Linked DNA regions of Homo sapiens: region 1 is linked to region 2. Evidence: promoter capture Hi-C in human tissues and cell types (Jung and others, 2019). All regions are on one chromosome and are shown on one strand. The core of a region is centred on a gene start or on the middle of the fragment in contact, and the rest is flanking DNA. Distances in the headings are between cores, read along the strand shown. Region 1 overlaps CA12 (carbonic anhydrase 12). Region 2 holds the start of APH1B (aph-1B gamma-secretase subunit).

Evidence for each region. The method cuts DNA at HindIII sites, captures the fragments that hold promoters and counts their contacts. A contact is called where the count stands out against the background at its distance.
Region 1: a fragment that was not itself captured here is called in contact with the fragment with the promoter of APH1B in region 2 in 6 of the 25 tissues and cell types used here (IMR-90 fibroblasts, aorta, hippocampus and 3 more).

What each region holds. Positions count from the first base shown.
Region 1 is chr15:63,349,669-63,352,368 of GRCh38, forward strand. The region is part of intron 2 of CA12 (carbonic anhydrase 12); the gene reads right to left. Among named protein-coding and RNA genes, the nearest start is that of CA12, 31 kb to the right of the region's middle. The HindIII fragment of the contact is 8,588 bases long and covers 1-2,700 here.
Region 2 is chr15:63,276,222-63,278,921 of GRCh38, forward strand. It overlaps APH1B (aph-1B gamma-secretase subunit), which reads left to right and starts at 1,384. Exons shown (of 6, transcript NM_031301.4): 1 at 1,384-1,515. The coding sequence starts at 1,403. LOC124903504 (a long non-coding RNA gene) reads left to right here. Exons shown (of 2, transcript XR_007064674.1): 2 at 1-631. RefSeq lists silencers at 911-1,330, 1,411-1,690. The HindIII fragment of the contact is 12,664 bases long and covers 1-2,700 here.

The DNA.
Region 1 (2,700 bases), core at 141-2,640, 73 kb after region 2:
GGCTAAGTAACAGTTACTTTGCTTGGGTCACAGGACTTATGTGTCCTTCAGTATTTATCCAGGAGATTTTGTGCACCTGGAATTTCCTGGCTTCCCCACGCTGTCCTTGAAGACAAGGACCACGGCTCATCCATCGCTGCACTTCCCACAGTGCCTGGCACAGAGTGGGCCCTCACATGTTTACTAAGCTGAACTCTCAACACCTGTTTCATGCTTGTTCCTTTCCCAGGGAACGTGCACCCACCTTAATTCCCTCATGTATTTCTTCTCCTCAAAAAAGAGGAGGAAAAATGAGATCACTTGCTCAGGTTCAAAATGTACCCTCCTAGCTTTCTAGCTTACCTGTGTGCAAATGGTTTCTGTTTGGGGGCACTAATTGAAAAAGAAATCTGATTTCTGCCCTGTAGCCTGGGAGACGGCCTGCCAAGGAAGTTCATAGGGCCCTCCCCCAGCATGTAATGGCTAGTGGGTGTCCCCGCCTTGCATAGCTGGGGACACTGTCAGAGCAGCCTCCTGTCTTTGTGGCATGTGAGAGATAGAGGTGCCATGAGGGTGGGCACCGGGACAACCAATATCAGAGGTGACAACAGCAGGCCTTTCTGTTCCCTGAGCTGTGACATGTGACTGCACAGTGCTGGCCTTATGCTGGCCGCTACACCCTGGGCTACCATTTTCCAACTCAGTGTCAGCTTTCACACTCATGCCAAGTGCTCCACTGCCAGAAATCCTCCACTGGGAGTGACTCTCCTAAAAGAAGCATTTATTTCCAGCTAAAACTTTGCCTTTGCTCTTCTGAGTTTTGACTTCGCCTCTCCAGTTGGTTGGACTCCTCCCATGATCGTGATACAGGAGGATCACGTGTCTTTCACAGTTTGTTTTTCTAAATAAAGCCAAGGCATTATTTCTTTCCTGTCTATGTGTTTTTCCTGCTCTAGGCAAAACAGAAGTGGTCAGAATTCCTGTTTCGAAAGGTAACAAGAGATTAACATGGCACAGCTCAAAATGCCTCTCGTGATTTCTGATTGGGAATTTTGAGGCCCAGGGTGTAGGACCTGCATTATCCAAGGACCAGAATGTTTTTACAGAAAATTTCAAATGTATACAATGTAGAGAGAGGAGTGGAATGAACCCCATGTCACCCAGCTTGGACAGTTTACAATTCAGAAACAGTCCTGCCTCATCTATGCTAAGCCCATTCTCCCCTTATCTACCTGGATAACTGGAAACAAATCCAGATATATTTCATCTGTATATATTTCATATGTTTCTCTAAAACATAAGGGCTCTTAAAACCACAGTACCATGACCACACCTAGAGAGTTAAGAATTAATACCTTAAGATTACCGAATCCAATTAGAATTCAAATTTTTCCAAATAGGTCATAAATTTTTAACAGTTTGTAAATTTCAGGGTTCACATACAGTCCATATATTTTTTGCAATATTGCAATTAGAGGATGTGTTATGGCCTAGATTACAGCTTGATGGTGGAATGCCTCATCAGAGAACACCTGGGCCCCGCTCCTCCAAGGCTCAACATCTCAGAGCCAGCTTGGTCTATCCTTTGCCCTTAGTGGGTCATGGACTCCCATGCTTCCATGGGTTAGGCCCTCGCCATGTCACACTGCAAAGGCTTCCCACAGGCAACCAGCCCCAGCCTTCCTTGTTACACTGCCAGGCTGGCTCTCCTGCAGTAACCAGATCAATCTTGTCATAGCCTGGCTTGGGTGGCACCACCCCACCACCCATCCGTACACTCCCTTTCTCCCTAGCATGCCCTGCCCCACCCCAACAAGACAAAGCACAGCCTAGCTGTTTTTCATGGCCTTGAAGTGCCCCAACCTGTCAAAGTCTTCAAAGGCCCCCACATCCCGCCCCAGCCTGCCCCATGCTTCAGCCAGCTCCCTGAGCCTAAGAACAGGCTATGCCAACCCACCTTCACAAATGCCGTTATGAAAAAATCTGCTCAAATGCCCTCTTCTTTCCTCTGCACCTTTCCAAATTTCGTCCACTCTTCAAAGTCCAGCTCAGGTCCTGCCAAAGCTACCCCAGTGCTTTCTAGTCCCTGACTTGAACTTCTCGGCCAGCCTACTCGGGTTGTGCACACTAGCAAGCAGTGATGATTGTTAGCCTGCCTCACCTGTGACTGTTAGAGCCAGACTAGTACAGAAACTTATTACAGACTAGAGCTCAGAATATGAGTTTCAAAGACCTTTGGAAGACCAGAACTTTATGTCATATCCCTACTTATGTCTGAACACATCCTTGAATGGATGTGGAGGGTTTTTTTAAGCTCATTTCAGAAATTTAGCCATAAAGGGATGAGAGAAGGGTGTATGCGTGGTGGTTATGGTAAGGTGAGGGTAATGTGAAAGATTTTGTTTTTTGTTTCTGTTTTTGTTTTTGAGACTGAGTCTTGCTCTGTCACCAAGGCTGGAGTGCAGTGGTGCAATCTCAGCTCACTGCAACCTCCGCCTCCCAGGTTCAAGCAATTCTTCTGCCTCAGCCTCCCAAGTAGCTGGGATTACAGGTGCGTGCCTCCACGCCCAGCTAATTTTTTATATTTTTAGTCGACATGGGGTTTCGCCATGTTGGCCAGGCTGGTCTCAGACTCCTGACCTAAAGCGATCCACCTGCCTTGGCCTCCCAAAGTGCTGGGAATACAGGCGCGAGCCACCGCACCCAGCCTGTGTTTTTGTT
Region 2 (2,700 bases), core at 134-2,633:
GGGAGTGAATGGAAATATATATGACTTTTAAATGGGCAAAGGTAATGTTTTTCTGTAAGAATTAAATACCTGCAGTTGTATTATTTGAAGGTGCATTTTCAGGGGCGAGCTGCAAAACATCTGTCAGGTCCCAACATTTGTCTACTGGTGTTTTTTTAAATGTGGATTGCCAAAATCTTTATTCATGATGGACATTATGTAGGAGTGGTTAATACTTACATAGCACTTACCTGTGTCAGGCACACTGATCAAAATAACCGACGAAGTATTATTCAACATAAAGAAAAATCTAACTTGGATGTGAATGATCAGAGAACTTAAGTTTTAATTTTTAAACCTTTCAGAAATTGTTAATATAGATGTTTATAACTTCCACCTTTTAAATTATTTCACTTATTGAACAGATATTAGTGAACTTCTAGGTGCTGAGGAAACAACAAAGAGCAAAGCAAAGTCCCTGTCCCCCAGGAGTTCGCGTTTTAACGGGGAAGAAAAATAAGCAAGTGAAATGGACGACTGTGAGAAGACGGAGCAGGGAGATGTTACTATTGCTTGTAGGGTGGTCACAGAATGCCTGCAAAAACAACCCTTTTGAAGAATTGGGAAAAAAATAAAAACCATTTGGCTGAAACAGCCCTGAGAAGGGCAGCTTCTTCCACCACTCTTTCATCATTTTACCATCTGTGGGTTATCCCCGGGGTCACTGCTATCCCAGCCTAGGTTTTATACAGGATGGAGTACGAAGTTCCCGCAACTATCCAAACGGTAAAATGTGCTTAAAAAAAAAAAAAAACCTATTTAAAAAGGAATCCTGCTTGTTCCTGCGCTACATTTTTGTTTAGTCTCTTTGGTTGACTTGGAATCTCTGCCTGTTCTCGGTGCATGCGGCTCGAAGGTGGGCTAGGGAGCTTCCCTTCTCTTAACCACCTCGCGGCCGGCACTGGAACCCGATCGGAGTGTATCTGTGGGGCTGCGGCGATGGCTGGGGCCCTAACGTCGCCGAGGACGCCCGCCTCGGGAGCAGGAGCTGCGGCGTGGCCCTGGCGCTTCCGGACACCCGGTAGGGCGGAGGGCCCAACGGTGGGGTCCGCGCTCACCGCCTTGAGCCCGCCCCTGCGCCCGGCGCCCTCAGCCCACGCCCCGCCCAGTCCCCCAGGCCCTAGCGTTTACCCCCACGCCCCGCCTCGCCCCGCGACCCACGTACCCCGCCTCCGAGCCCCGCCCCCGCCCCCACGTGCCCCGCCCCCGAGCCCCGCCCCCGTCCCCGTGCCTGCCCATGAGCCGCGCCCCGCCCCCCGCGTCCCGCTTAGCCCCCCACCCCGAGCCCCACCCACCGAACCCCGCCCGCGCCGGGAGCATCTCGCGTCCCCAACGGGCCCCCGGGTCGGTTTCCGCGGTGGCCATGACTGCGGCCGTGTTCTTCGGCTGCGCCTTCATTGCCTTCGGGCCTGCGCTCGCCCTTTATGTCTTCACCATCGCCACCGAGCCGTTGCGTATCATCTTCCTCATCGCCGGGTGAGGCGGTCGCGTCGGGAAACCCGGACGCCGGGGCTCCCCTCCCCCGCTGGGGTTACCCGCGACCCTCGGCGCCCCCACCGCGCGGCTCGACCTTGTTGCGTTTCAGACGGGAGGAGGGTTGAGAGGGGGAGAGCGGAGATCCGGCTCCCCAAAGGCGCCTCGCCCTCTTAGGAAGAAGCGCACACTGGGGGTCAGGGCCTTTTGCCTGGGGCTCATGGGTGGGGTTTAGTGATCCGTGAAGCTACTAAAGTTGTATAAAAAAATTATGGATAAGTTCATATATGCATCCTTCATTTTCTGGAGGGGGAGTCCCTAATTTCCCTCAGATTCTCAAAGGCATGTGTAATCCCCAAAGGGTTAAAAACCATTGGCGTTTAGGATAGTAGTGCGCGACTTCCGCCTATTAGAATCACCTGTGGCCAGGTGCTTTAAAACATGCCGATGCCCACCCCCACCCCGATCCATTGAATCAGAATGTCTAGGGGATGGGATTCGGGCTTCAGAAAAAAAAAAAAAAATTTAAGCTCCTTTTGGATGGTTCCGTTGTGCAGCCGAAGGGTGGAAACCTGTAAAAACACCGAAGCACCTGACTGTGCGTCTCCTTCTGGGAGCTTGGTAAATACCGGACTCTGGTGTCCCATCGCAGTCATCACCTGCCTCTTACTTGCACATACCACATCCCCCCTCCTCTGATGAGTCTCTCTTGGCACCAGACTAGGCCAATGATTCCCGCTTTTCTGCGTTTCTTCACCTCCCACAAACGTATTGAAAGTGCTTCGCTGCATGTCATTTTAAAAATAATAGAGATTTGGGAAGGGTCTGTAAAGCTTGCTATAATCATTAGAATCCCCAGGGGTGCTGTAAGACCTGGAGGGCTTGGATACTGATCCAGATCAGAACACAGGTTTTCAAGTTGAATTTTATACCAGTCACTTTATTAATAGAGATGTAGATATTTTTCTGGAAAAGATACTCATCTTTGCAGATATCTGATCAGTAAATCCATAATTTCTTGTAAGTTTTAAGAATATGAAAATTGCAGTAATCAGGGTTGTGTATTTTCTTGTTTTGGCTCATCAATGGGCAGAGCATTGATTAGAAAGAGTAGCAAATAACCAAGTTTCTAGCTAGATAGTCCTTGGCAGATAGAGTCTGCAGATGTACTTGCAAGTAGCAGGGTCA